4 separate regions of the Homo sapiens genome follow, and all the other regions are linked to region 3. Evidence: promoter capture Hi-C in human tissues and cell types (Jung and others, 2019). All regions are on one chromosome and are shown on one strand. Each heading gives the region's core, a stretch centred on a gene start or on the middle of the fragment in contact. The rest is flanking DNA. Distances are from core to core; before and after follow the strand shown.

Region 1 (2,925 bases), core at 61-2,560, 140 kb after region 3:
TTCTTTGAGACTGAGTCTCACTTTGTCACCCAGGCTGGAGTGCAGTGGTGCAATCTCTAGTTGCAGCTACTGTGGTGCAATCTCTAGTTGCAGCTACTCTGGAAACTGAGGCAAGAGAATTGCTTGAACCCAGAAGTTCCAAGGCTATAGTATGCTATAATGCTATGATTGCACCTGTGAATAGCCACCGTACCCCAGCCTGGGCAACATAGCGAGACCTCTCTCTTAAAAATAAAACCTCAAATTTCCTATGTTAAAACACACAATTATGTAATAATTTTAAACATTTAAAAGATCAAATTCTTAATATTCTGCCACCTATTTTTATCAACACATATTTAGAAACCTTTCATTGGTGTATATACAGCTACCTCACTTCTTTTGTCAGCTGTATAGCATTCCACTGTACAAATGTATTAGAATTCATTTAACCAGTCCCTCTATAAAGAATGCTTTTACTAACTCATGCAACATATAATTACACTGAGTGTCTATTAGAGCAGGTCCCGTTCTGGGCATTGCAGATACACAAGTGAACAAAGTAAAGTCCTTGACCTGATGGAGCTTACATTCCAGTGGGGGGAAGTCAGACAAAAGTCCATCATAGTACGTCAGCTGGTGTAGACTAAGGAGAAAAACAACGCAGGGCCTAGGAGCTCAATAACAGGTGGGGTGGGTGGGGAGAAGTTGCTATTTTATAGTGTAGCCAAGGTAGGCCTCTCTCATAGAGTAAATATAAGCAGAAACCAGAGGGAACTGAGAGAGCGGGGCATGATGATATATGGGTGAAGAATGTTAGGGCAAAGGCAACAGCCAACGCAAAGGCCCCGAGGTGAGAGCATCACTGAGAGAGAGTATTTGAGAAAACAAGGTGGCTAGCGTGCATGGAATCTGATGAGAAAGGGAGATAGTAGTAAAACATGTCAGGGTGGAGGAAAACAAACCATGCAGGGCCACTTTAAGGACTTTTCGACAGGGGAGTGGCATGACTGGACTTATGCTTCAACACAATCACTCTGCTTTGTTAAGAACAGATTAAAAGAAAACAAAGGTCAAAGCAATGGGTCCAGTTATCTCAGTGGGAGACAATGGTTTAAGTTGGAGTGGCAGCAGTGAAGAGAATTAGAAGTGGTAAAATTCTGAACATAGGCCAGATGCAGTGGCTCATGCCTGTAATCCCAGCACTTTGGGAGGCCAAGGCGGGTGGATCACCTGAGGTTAGGAGTTCAAGACCAGCCTGGCCAACATGGTGAAACCCTATCTCTACTAAAAATACAAAAATCAGCTGGGTATGGTGGTACGTGCCTGTAATCCCAGTTACTTGGGAGGCTGAGGCAGGAGAACCGGCTTGAACCTGGGAGGTGGAAGTTGCAGTGAGCCCAGATTGCACCACTGCACTCCAGCCTGGGTAACAAAGCAAGACTCTATCTCAAAAAAAAAAAAAAAAAAAAAAATTCTGAACATATTTTGAAGGTAAAATCAATAAGCTTTACTGATAGATTTGGATTTAGCATATAATATAAAAAGAAGAGAAAGACAAGAATGACTCCAAGGATTTTAGCTGTAAAAATTAGAAGGAGAAAAGTTGACAGTTATTGAGATGTAGAAGGCTGTGGAGGTCAGGCACGGTGGCCCACATCTAAAATCCCAGCACTTTGGTAGGTCAAAGTGGGAGGATTACTTGAGTTCAGGTGTTCAAGAACAGCCTAGGTAATACACTAATACTCTGTCTCTATTTAAAAAAAAAAAAAAGAAAGAAAGAAGAAAGGTGAAAGAAGAAGAAGAGGAAGAGGAGGAGAAGGAGGAGGAGGAGGAGGAGGAGGAGAAAGGCGGCCGTAGGAGAAATGGGTTTCGGGTGGGGAACAGAAGGAAGAGTTCAGTTTTGAACATGTTACATTTGATATGTTTGTTAGACATAAAAAGGAAATGACTGGAGGCAACTGACACAGGCCTGAAATTCAGGGCAGAGCTCTGGGCTGGACGCATAAACTTGGAAATCCTCTGCACATAGGAGTTAAGTTTTAGTAACAAAGGAACTAGATGAGATTAAGAAGGCTGGGTGTGGTGGCTCCCGTCTGTAATCCCAGAACTTTGGGGGAGGCCGAGGCGGGAGGACCACTTGAGGTCAGGAGTTTGAGACCAGCCTGGCCAACATGGCAATACTCTGTCTCTACTAAAAAATCAGCCAGGCGTGGTAGCAGACGCCTGTACTCCCAGCTACTTGGGAGGCTGAGGTGGGGAAATCGCTTGAGCCCAGGAGATGGAGGTTGGAGTGAGCTGAGATTGCACCACTGCACTCCAGCCTGGGCAACAGAGTGAGACCCTGTCTCAATTGAAAAAAAAAAAAAAAAAAAGAGAGAGAGAGGGAGGTTAAGAAGAAAATGAAGGTAGATAAATGAATCTGAAGACAGAGCCCTGGAACACTCTAATGTTCAGAGATAGAGGATGTGAGGAAAAATCAAGAGTGGAAGCCGAGTGAAGACCGTATGCTTAGAGAAGAAAGAAGTGATCAACAGTCGCTAATGAATTACGTCAGATGAGTTCTGATGCGAAGGTCATATCCTCTGAAATACTGGAAGGGAAACTGCTTCCAGATTTTTTGCAACGATAAACAATACCTCAATAAATATCTTTGTGTAATTTTATGGGAATGGAATTTCTGGACCCAAGGATATGTAAACTTAACATTGAGATACATTACCAAGTTGTCCACATGACTTCAACAATTTATAGACAGAATAAAACTGAATGTATCTCTAAACTATCACCTACACCAAGAACTATCAAACTTATTAATCCTTGCCAATTTGCTAGGTCAAAAATGTTATCTTGTTTTATTTTGCACTTCTCTATGGCCAAAATTGAGTGGTATTTCATGTTATTAGCCGCTTGCCTTCTTTTCAAAAACAGTCTTTGCCTACTTTT
Region 2 (2,948 bases), core at 416-2,915, 210 kb after region 3:
CAGGATGGCGCTTTGCTTTTTGTTAGTTCTCCAACCTTCCAAACCCTTGGGGCACATGCAAGCACTGTGGAAAAACTCCATTAAACCAAGAGTCATCTTACTCCAGATCCCAGACTGCTTGGGAAGTTGGACATGCATATTCCCAAAGAGAACAGTGTTGGAAGGAGACAGGAGAGCAGCTCGGGGGTTGGGGGTAGAGGGTAGGAAAAGAGGGCAAGATGGATGACTACCACTCGAGGCCAGCCTCCACTGCCTGTTAGGGCAGTAGAACCTAAGAGCCGGTCCAAGGCAACACAAAAGACAGTGAGGCTAGGTCTTTCATTGCAGCCAACGATCAAGAAAGCAACTCCATCAAATGACACTGTCTTTTAAAAAAAAATTTTTTTTTTGAGACAGAGTCTCGCTCTGTCGCCCAGGCTGGAGTGCAGTGGTGCGATCTTGGCTCACTGCAACCTCTGCCACCCGGGTTCAAGCAGTTCTCCCTGCCTCAGCCTCCTGAGTAGCTGAGATTACAGGCACGCGCTACCAGGCCCGGCTAATTTTTTTTTTTTTTGGTGGAGTCGAGGTTTTGCCATGTTGGCCACGTTGGTCTCGAATTCCTGACCTCAGGTGATCCGCCCATCTCAGCCTCCCAAAGTGCTGGGATTTCAAGCGTTAGCCACCGCGCCCGACCAAATGACACTGTCTTAAATGATTTAATGTCTTAAATCGGGAAAGGAGAGTAAGAGAAAGCACTCAACGGAGTCAGAGGTGTCTTGCAGCCTAGCTCTTTCCACAGACAAGCTACATGGGCCTATCATCTAACCTTTTCAAGCTTCTCCGACTGCTTCTGTGTTGGAGGGATTTGGGCTAGAGGATCTTTTTATTTTTTTTTATTTTATTTTGGTGACGGAGTCTCTCACTGTCGCCCGGGCTGAAGTGCAGTGGCGCAATCTCAGCTCACTGCAACCTCTTTCTCCTGGGTTCACGCGATTCTCCTGCCTCAGCCTCCCAACTAGCTGGGATTACAGGCGCACACCACCACACCTGGCCTATTTTTTGTATTTTTAGTAGAGACGGGGTTTCACTATGTTGGCCAGACTGGTCTCGAACTCCTGACCTCGTGATCTGCCCACCTCGGCCTCCCAAAGTGCTGTGATTACAGGCATGAGCCACCGCACCTGGCCTGTGATCCCATTTTTCAAAGTAATTAGGCTGGGTGCAGTAGCTCACGCCTGTAATCCCAGCACTCTGGGAGGCCAAAGCGGGTGGATCACTTGAGGCCAGCAGTTCGAGACCAGCCTGGCCAACATGGTGAAACCCTGTGTCTACTAAAAATACAAAAATTAGCTCGGCATAGTGGCACGTACCTGTACTTTCAGCTACTTGGGAGGTTGAGGCAGGAGAATTCGCTTGAACCCGGGAGGCAGAGGTTGCAGTGAGCCAAGATGGCACCACTGCACTCCATTCTGGGTGACAGAGTGAGACCCTGTCTCAAAAATAATGATAATAAAATAAAAGTAATTATTTAAGGCTGGGAGCGGTGGCTCATGCCTGTAATCACAGCACTTTGGGAGGCCGAGGTGGGTGGATCATGAGGTCAGGAGGTCGAGACCATCCTGTCTAACACAGTGAAACCCTGTCTCTACTAAAAATACAAAAAAATTAGCCAGGCATGGTGGCGGGCGCCTGTAGTCCCAGCTACTCGGGAGGCTGAGGCAGGAGAATCGCTTGAACCCAGAAGGCGGAGGTTGCAGTAAGCCGAGATCACACCACTGCACTCCAGCCTGGGTGACAGAGCGAGACTCCGTCTCAAAAAAAATTATTATTATTATTTAAAATAATCATTGGGCCTGGTGCGGTGGCTCACACCTGTAATCCTAGCACTTTGGGAGGCCAAGGCGGGCGGATCACGAGGTCAGGAGATTGAGATCCAACCTGGCCAACATGGTGAAACCCCATCTCTACTAAAAATATTTTTTTAATTAGCTGGGCGTGGCGGCGGGCACCTGTAATCCCAGCTAGTCGGGAGACTGAGGCAGGAGAATCGCTTGAACCTGGGAGTCGAAGGTTTCAGTGAGCCGAGGTCGTGCCACTGCAATCCACCTGGCCAACAGAGCAAGACTCTGTCTCTAAAATAATAATTTTTATTATTGTTATTCTTGACAGGCCAGTGTAGAACAGGTGGGGCATCTATGGTGACAGAACTGGGTTCCAATTCTGTCCCTTCACCTGTCCCAGGTTCCTCATCTGAAAACTGTGACCCAGTAAACCTAATTTCATGAGCAGCTTTCATTAAAATTGAAATAATGGTGGAAAATGCCTTGTAACCGTGCTTGATGTAGAGTAGTTACTTAGCCAGTTATTTCCTCTCTTCTTCCCATTCCTAACAAAATGGAAAAACGTTTGGTTGCTAGGAAAGAGCCTTAAGGGGATTTTGTTGTTGTTTGACTCTATCGCCCAGGATGGAGTGCAATGGCACAATCTCTGCTCAGTGCAACCTCCGCCATAGACAGGAGCCAAGCGTAGTGGTGTGCACCTGTCGGTAGTTCCAGCCTCTTAGGAGGCTGAGGCAGGAGGATTGCTTGAGGCCAGGAGTTTGAGTCTAGCTTGGGCAATATATTGAAACCTTGTCTCTTAAAAAAAAAAAAAAAAAAGAGGCCAGGTGTGGTGGCTCACACCTGTAATCCCAGCACATTGGGAGGCCGAGGCAGTGGATCACTTGACACCAGGAGTTCGAGACCAGCCTGGGCAACATGCAAACTTATGTCTTTTAGGCCGGGCGCGGTGGCTCACACCTGTAATACCAGCACTTTGGTAGGCCGAGGCGGGCAGATCACGAGGTCAGGAGATCGAGACCATCCTGGCTAAGATGAAACCCAGTCTCTACTAAAAATAAAAAAAAATTAGCCGGGTGTGGTGGCTGGCGCCTGTAGTCCCGGCTACTTGGGAGGCTGAGGCAGGAGAAT
Region 3 (3,000 bases), core at 419-2,918:
TGTGGTGTTATATACCTCTAGTCTCAGCTACTTGGGAGGCTGAGGCAGGAGGACTGCTTGAGCATGGGAGTTCAAGGCTCCACCTGGTCAACATACTGAGACCCTCAACTCTAAAATAAATAAATTTTAAAAAATAACACCAATATATAGATCCCAATACTGCTCTAATGGATATTAAGTGCTATCAATAAGTACTTCTTGACACATCACTGGATGAATGAAAACAAACAATGATTACATTGAGAGTGACAATGAGTTGGTTTCAAAGCTATATTGAGTACTATTCACTCAGGCATACTCAATACATTTTTGTGAGCTCATGGCTTTCCTACTTGTGATTCTCAAAAGAATCCTATTGGAACCCCCCCACCCCCCAATCACAGTAAAACCTCAGATTAGGTCTTGGCAAACTCATTTTCTTGACAAATACAACTTAGAGGTTATATCTGGTCCCTCATTTGGATTATACTATATAAATTCTTCAGTGATTACTGTCGTTTGGTATTTGGTTAATTAAATCTACTGAGTGAGGTCAAACTTGCATTTGTCTTGTGTCAAGTTCCATTCTATGGCAGACTAATTTAACAGAGATTCCAAGGTTCTCTGCCTCCAAGCTGAATAAGCTACTAGAACAAAAAACAACTAGAAGCCACCTTATTCCCAATTCATTAACGTTGACTTCATGGTCCACACCAGAAAATGAACGCAACTCAATTCTCGAAGACACTATTCTAGAATTTTATACACTTAGGAATTCAGATCACAGGCTCAAAAGTTTTAGCAGGAGACCCACGGAGCTTGGGCCTTGATGCAAAAGCAGCTTTTGAAACTGCAAGCCACTCTACGCTTAATCGCGGCAGCTATAGGGAATTAAGTTTATTTCTGACCGCAGCATGCTAAAAATCAGTAGGATATGGGGCTAGAAGCAACAAAAAACGTAACAAAAATTAATTCCCCAATAAAGCTTTAAAAACTATTTTCCGTCGCTAACTGAAGTACGTAGCCAAATATGGAAGCTCTAAACATTCAGCTTTTCTTTAAAATCATAGATATCACCTAGTGTCGTCACTCGTTCTCTCCCCCCTTGTTTCTGCACCCTTTAGGTGAGTGAACACGACCTTGGCAGATGCACCCTACTGTCGGGATGTGGCCTTGGGGCGGAGCTGGCAGATACAAGCAGGATGGTGAGTGGAGGCGGCAAGGAACTCTTACAATAACACTATCCAAATGCCCTCCGACCTTCCGGAGGCAAAAAATGACCCTCTGGTGCCAGAGACTCGGTGAGTGGCGTGACCTAGAGATGGAGGACCAGGACGCAGCAAACCAGGCACAGAACAGTACCCAACGGGACAGAGTTCCACCGGACCAGCCCCCTTCCCAGAGCGCGCGGTAAGACGGGCGGCGGCCTCCATCCCAGGCTGCACACAGAGGGTCCCGGGATCTCCAGCAGCATCAGGCCTGGGACCCGGGCGCCAGCAGAGACAGCGGCACCGAGTGAGGCAGTCCCCTGCCGCGCCAAGAACAAGACCGGGGACAGAAAGAAAGCGAATAAAGATGAGGCAGTGGTGAAGGGGCTGGGCATCACCGTACTTACCTTTCCTCGTAGCCCCCACAGCACAGGATGCCGTGGCCGCCGCTCACCCACCGGCTCAGCTCACGCGCGCAAGCACCGCCCAACCGGAAGCGGGTCCGCACCCCGCCCTCATCCGCCTCGCCGGCGGCCTCCCGACCAATCATCAGCAAACCCGCCGCTGTCGCATAGCGTCCCCGAGTAGCCATTGGTCTAACAATCGCATAGCCGGGATTGGCTGGAAAGCGCCACGTCCCCGGGACCGCGCCGAGTTGCGTGGAGCGGATTCCCGCCCAACTCTCGTCCCCGGGATTGTTGGGACGGCGGGCTCCAGCCCCAGCCCCAGCCCCAGCCCCGTACTGCGGGTGGCGTGGGCGCGGCCGTGTGGCCGCCACGTCCCCATTCACAGCTCATGACTCTGCTTCCACAGGGCTTCTTAGACTATCCTGCTAGTTATCTTCATTCCCACAAGACCACCAGGGCGGAATTAATCCGACTGAATCAGTCACCAACTTTATTGAACAATCCCAACTTTTTCTTTCCCTTCAGCGCTGCGCCCTGCGCTATCTACAGGAGGCTCTTCAGTCTTTGGCACCAGTGTATCTTTTAGCTCCATCTCCCAACACTCCCCCTCATCTTGCGCTCTGGGCACCATCATCTGTTTCCTAACAACCGGTCCTTTTTCATCTCTTAAGATTTTTGATCAAGAGGCTTCCTCTGCCAGGAATAAGTGCGTTTTCCTGATTTTCTGCCTTGCCAATAGAAGTCCCAGTTCAGATGTTAGCTCTAGAAGCCTTCCCTGACCTCACTAAGCATAATTCTTACCTTATTTACCATCATAGCTGTTTATAGCTTCAGTACACTTTGCCAAATTCTGCTATAAAATGTAGCTTATCCATCTGTCCTCTTCTAGAGTAAGCTCCTGGGTAGGTATCTGTCTATTCATCTTTATATCTGCAACTCTGAGCTTACTGCCCAGCTCAGTAATGTTAAGTGAAGGGAATGGGCCGAACCCGTTGCATGTCCCTGAAAATTTAATTTCATGTCATGAAATTAAAACAAATATCAAATAAAGGCTACTATAGCTTCAACACAAATGGAATGTAAACCTGTGGCATTCTTAGCACATAAAGCCTCTGTAGTTTAAAATCAAATTGAGACAAGTTGTAAACTCATGAAACAGTTAAGCTCATGAAAGCAAGCTAGTTACTGTCAACGTGAAAGGTTTACAACTAATCCTTCTGGCATTCAAAGGAGTGTCAGTGACCCTTGGTGGTAGTCAGGGAAGGCTTCAGAGGAAGATATGACTAAGGCTGGACTAAGGAAGTCCCAAATGGACTATTCAGCAAGAAGAGTAATAGGAATAAGGACAAGTGGAGGGCAGAGTGGGAGGTAAATTCTCAGGCCAGGTAGCAAATGAGGAAGGTTAA
Region 4 (2,914 bases), core at 180-2,679, 220 kb before region 3:
AGAGCCGTAGCAACCAAGTGTTGTTGTAGCAGCCTACATTTATTGAATACTATTTTGTTCACTGCTCTATTTTCATAAGCACTCTGTATGTGGACGATTTTAATCCTCTAAACAGTGTTATGAAGTAGATAATATTAATAGATGAGGAAACTGAGACAAAGATTGGTAACTTGTTCAAGGGCACAGTGGAGCCAAGATTCAAACTCGGGCAGTTTGTGTCCAGAGTACACCCTTTGAAGACCACCAAGCTTATAACTTTTCTCATATATAATAATTTTTGCCCTGAATTACAGAAAGATCTGAAGCCAGGATCGCTCAGGAGACGATGGAGAGAGCTCCTAGCAGAGTTGGGACGGTTCTCAGTGTGCCCCAATGTTGCAGTTGTTTTTCAGCATATTCTGTCTTTCTCCTCAGTCAAGGACCAACCTACCTTTTCTTTTCTAGTGCTGAGGAATGTAAACAAGTTTGCTGGGCCTTGCGAGACTTCACCAGGTTGTTTCGATAGCTCACACTCCTGCACTGTGCCTGTCACCCAGGTGAGGATACATAGTTCCCAGCTTTTGTCCGGACTGTCGGACTGTTGGGGATGCCTGGGAATGGGGATAGGTTTTAATGCCTATCATGGGACCAGTCTTATAGCTAGAGTCAGGGAAGGACTCAGCAGTTTAACTGTGGTGAACAGCTGGAATATACAGGGCCCGGATTTTCTTGGGCCTGGGCAGCCAGTAATTGTCAGTGTCTTTGGGGTACCATTTTCACCTCCATAAGAAAGTAACTGTTACACAGTGCATTGAAACATTTTCTTCCCCCTTCCCCTTACAGACACTTCTAAGATGGTAAGTGTACATGGCAACAAACAAATAAGTATTTTTAACCTGGCCACTTTGGCGAAAACAACCTCAAGTTGACTGTTATATGTGGTGCCAGTCTCCTAAAACTGACCCTCCAGATGTAATGAGCAAAGAGCTTATTCTTATCACTTTTATGACCTGAATGCTGAAGTGCCAGGTTTTGACCAGGGCAGGAGGTATGAATTGAATATCCCTTATCCGAAATGCTTGGGATTTCGGAGGAAAAAACACTTTCAGAAGTGTTTTTCAATTTTGGATTTTTTGGGATTTTGGAATATTTGCAGAATGCACACCAGTTGAGCATTCCTAATCCAAAAATCCAAAATCCAAAATGCTCCAATGCTCATTCGCTTGAGGGTCATATCAGCGTTCAAAAAGTTTCAGCTGTTAGGGATGCTTGGCCCTTACAGGAGAGGAGGAGCATCTTTGGCTCCCGATGAGCACTTTTCTCCACGTGCTTTCCGTCTCCTGGTTCTGAAGCAAAGCAAGAAGCTTAGCTGAAAGGAGTGGGTAGTAGAATTTGGGTGCCAGTTTCTTGATGGAGAGAAGAAAGGTAGCTCTCCTCTAAGCCCACCCTTTGATGTCTCAAGGTGAGTTTCTTCTCCCAGGAGGCAATTCTTGATGAATCTGTAGCACTCACTGGTAGTTTCTGTGTTAAATGCATTCATAGGTAAAAGTGATGTTCAGCAGTGCCTTGCCACACCCAAAATCATTTCTCAACTTTGATTGTTTTAATGAGTAATAATATCATTTGGGATGTCCTGGTTTTGCATGGTGTCTGGGTTAGCTGACATTGATACACCTCATAAGGTTGCTCATGGACAGCTGTAGGTGTTCATGGTTAACTTTTATTGTGCCCTTACTGTGTGTCAGGGCACTGTTTTAAGTGTTTTAGATGTATTAACTAAGATAATCCTCATCTGCTTTTCTGGATTTGTTACTATTTTTCCCATTTTACAAATGAGGAAATTGAGGTTCAACAATGTTTAACAATTTGCCTGACAGTTATTCGTGGAGCCAGAATTCACATGTAGATATTCTGGTACCAGAGTCCTCACTTTGAACCACTCCGCTTAATACAGTATCCTTTCGATAGCATCTAAATTGGTGTTTTGTTTTGTTTTGTTTTCAACTGTTATTAGTAGGCAAAGCCTTCTTTCAAAATAAAATCGACATGAAGCCTGTGGGATTTAGCAGACTGAGGCAAAGCTTCCCTGGTTGCTTTGGAATGGGAGGCCTGGACCTGCTGGCTCTTTGCCCTCCTGACACATCATCCCTTGTTTCCACAGCACACTCAGCATTGGAAGCACACTGCAGACGGTGTCTCATTAAAGCAGTAGCTCCCTTGAACCCACAAGTTAAAACGCCAGACTTTTATTTATTTGTTTATTTTTTCTGAGTTCTTATTGGCAGACTTCAGAATGAGGTACCTGAGGAAATATAGAAACCTCTGCCTTAAGGTTGATTTTACTAAATGCTCTATTTTCTGGTGCAGTTATTGACTGTCTTATCTCTTTTGTCAGGAATGTCTTTTTTAATTAGAAGACAGGAAGAAAACAAAAACCAGACTGTGTCCCACAATCAGAAACCTCCGTTGTGGCAGAGGGGCCTTCACCGCCACCAGGGTGTCCCGCCAGACAGGGAGAGACTCCAGCCTTCTGAGGCCATCCTGAGGAGTTCCTGTTTGGGGGTGTGAGGGAAAATCAGCGCGGATTTTAAAAAGATGGCTGTGGCCTGCCCGGCGTGGTGGGAGGGGAGCTGGTTTCCTGGTGAACTTTCTAAAAGGAAAAATAATTTTAAGTAAAGAAAAAAGAAAAAAAAGGAAGACTAAACAGAAACCAGAACTGAAACATTCACCTGGTAGCAAATGACACATGCACGCACACACACATACACGCACAAGCGCCAGTGCGCACGTGTACACAGAAAAACAAAAGGACAAGCTTTCTGTGAAACAAAATATTTACTTAGGGATAATGTGGGGATTCACATGAATTAAATAGCTGCAATTGGAAGAAGAGGGTCAGGGTCATTTGTTCAGGTTTTCTATTGTTTTGTCCTCT

Evidence for each region. The method cuts DNA at HindIII sites, captures the fragments that hold promoters and counts their contacts. A contact is called where the count stands out against the background at its distance.
Region 1: a contact is called between a fragment that was not itself captured here and the fragment with the promoter of CALU in region 3, in 2 of the 25 tissues and cell types used here (hippocampus and mesenchymal stem cells).
Region 2: a contact is called between a fragment that was not itself captured here and the fragment with the promoter of CALU in region 3, in 2 of the 25 tissues and cell types used here (hippocampus and mesenchymal stem cells).
Region 4: a fragment that was not itself captured here is called in contact with the fragment with the promoter of CALU in region 3 in 1 of the 25 tissues and cell types used here (mesenchymal stem cells).

What each region holds. Positions count from the first base shown.
Region 1 is chr7:128,594,584-128,597,508 of GRCh38, reverse strand. No RefSeq gene overlaps it. Among named protein-coding and RNA genes, the nearest start is that of LINC01000, 45 kb to the left of the region's middle. The HindIII fragment of the contact is 6,994 bases long and covers 1-2,925 here.
Region 2 is chr7:128,527,066-128,530,013 of GRCh38, reverse strand. No RefSeq gene overlaps it. Among named protein-coding and RNA genes, the nearest start is that of METTL2B, 52 kb to the right of the region's middle. The HindIII fragment of the contact is 6,916 bases long and covers 1-2,948 here.
Region 3 is chr7:128,738,027-128,741,026 of GRCh38, reverse strand. It overlaps CALU (calumenin), which reads right to left and starts at 1,668. Exons shown (of 7, transcript NM_001219.5): 1 at 1,595-1,668. RefSeq lists an enhancer at 1,332-1,431 and silencers at 1,712-1,851, 1,922-2,061. The HindIII fragment of the contact is 3,801 bases long and covers 28-3,000 here.
Region 4 is chr7:128,954,846-128,957,759 of GRCh38, reverse strand. It overlaps TNPO3 (transportin 3), which reads left to right. Exons shown (of 23, transcript NM_012470.4): 22 at 445-536; 23 at 2,375-2,914. The coding sequence ends at 505. Among named protein-coding and RNA genes, the nearest start is that of IRF5, 18 kb to the right of the region's middle. The HindIII fragment of the contact is 3,933 bases long and covers 1-2,914 here.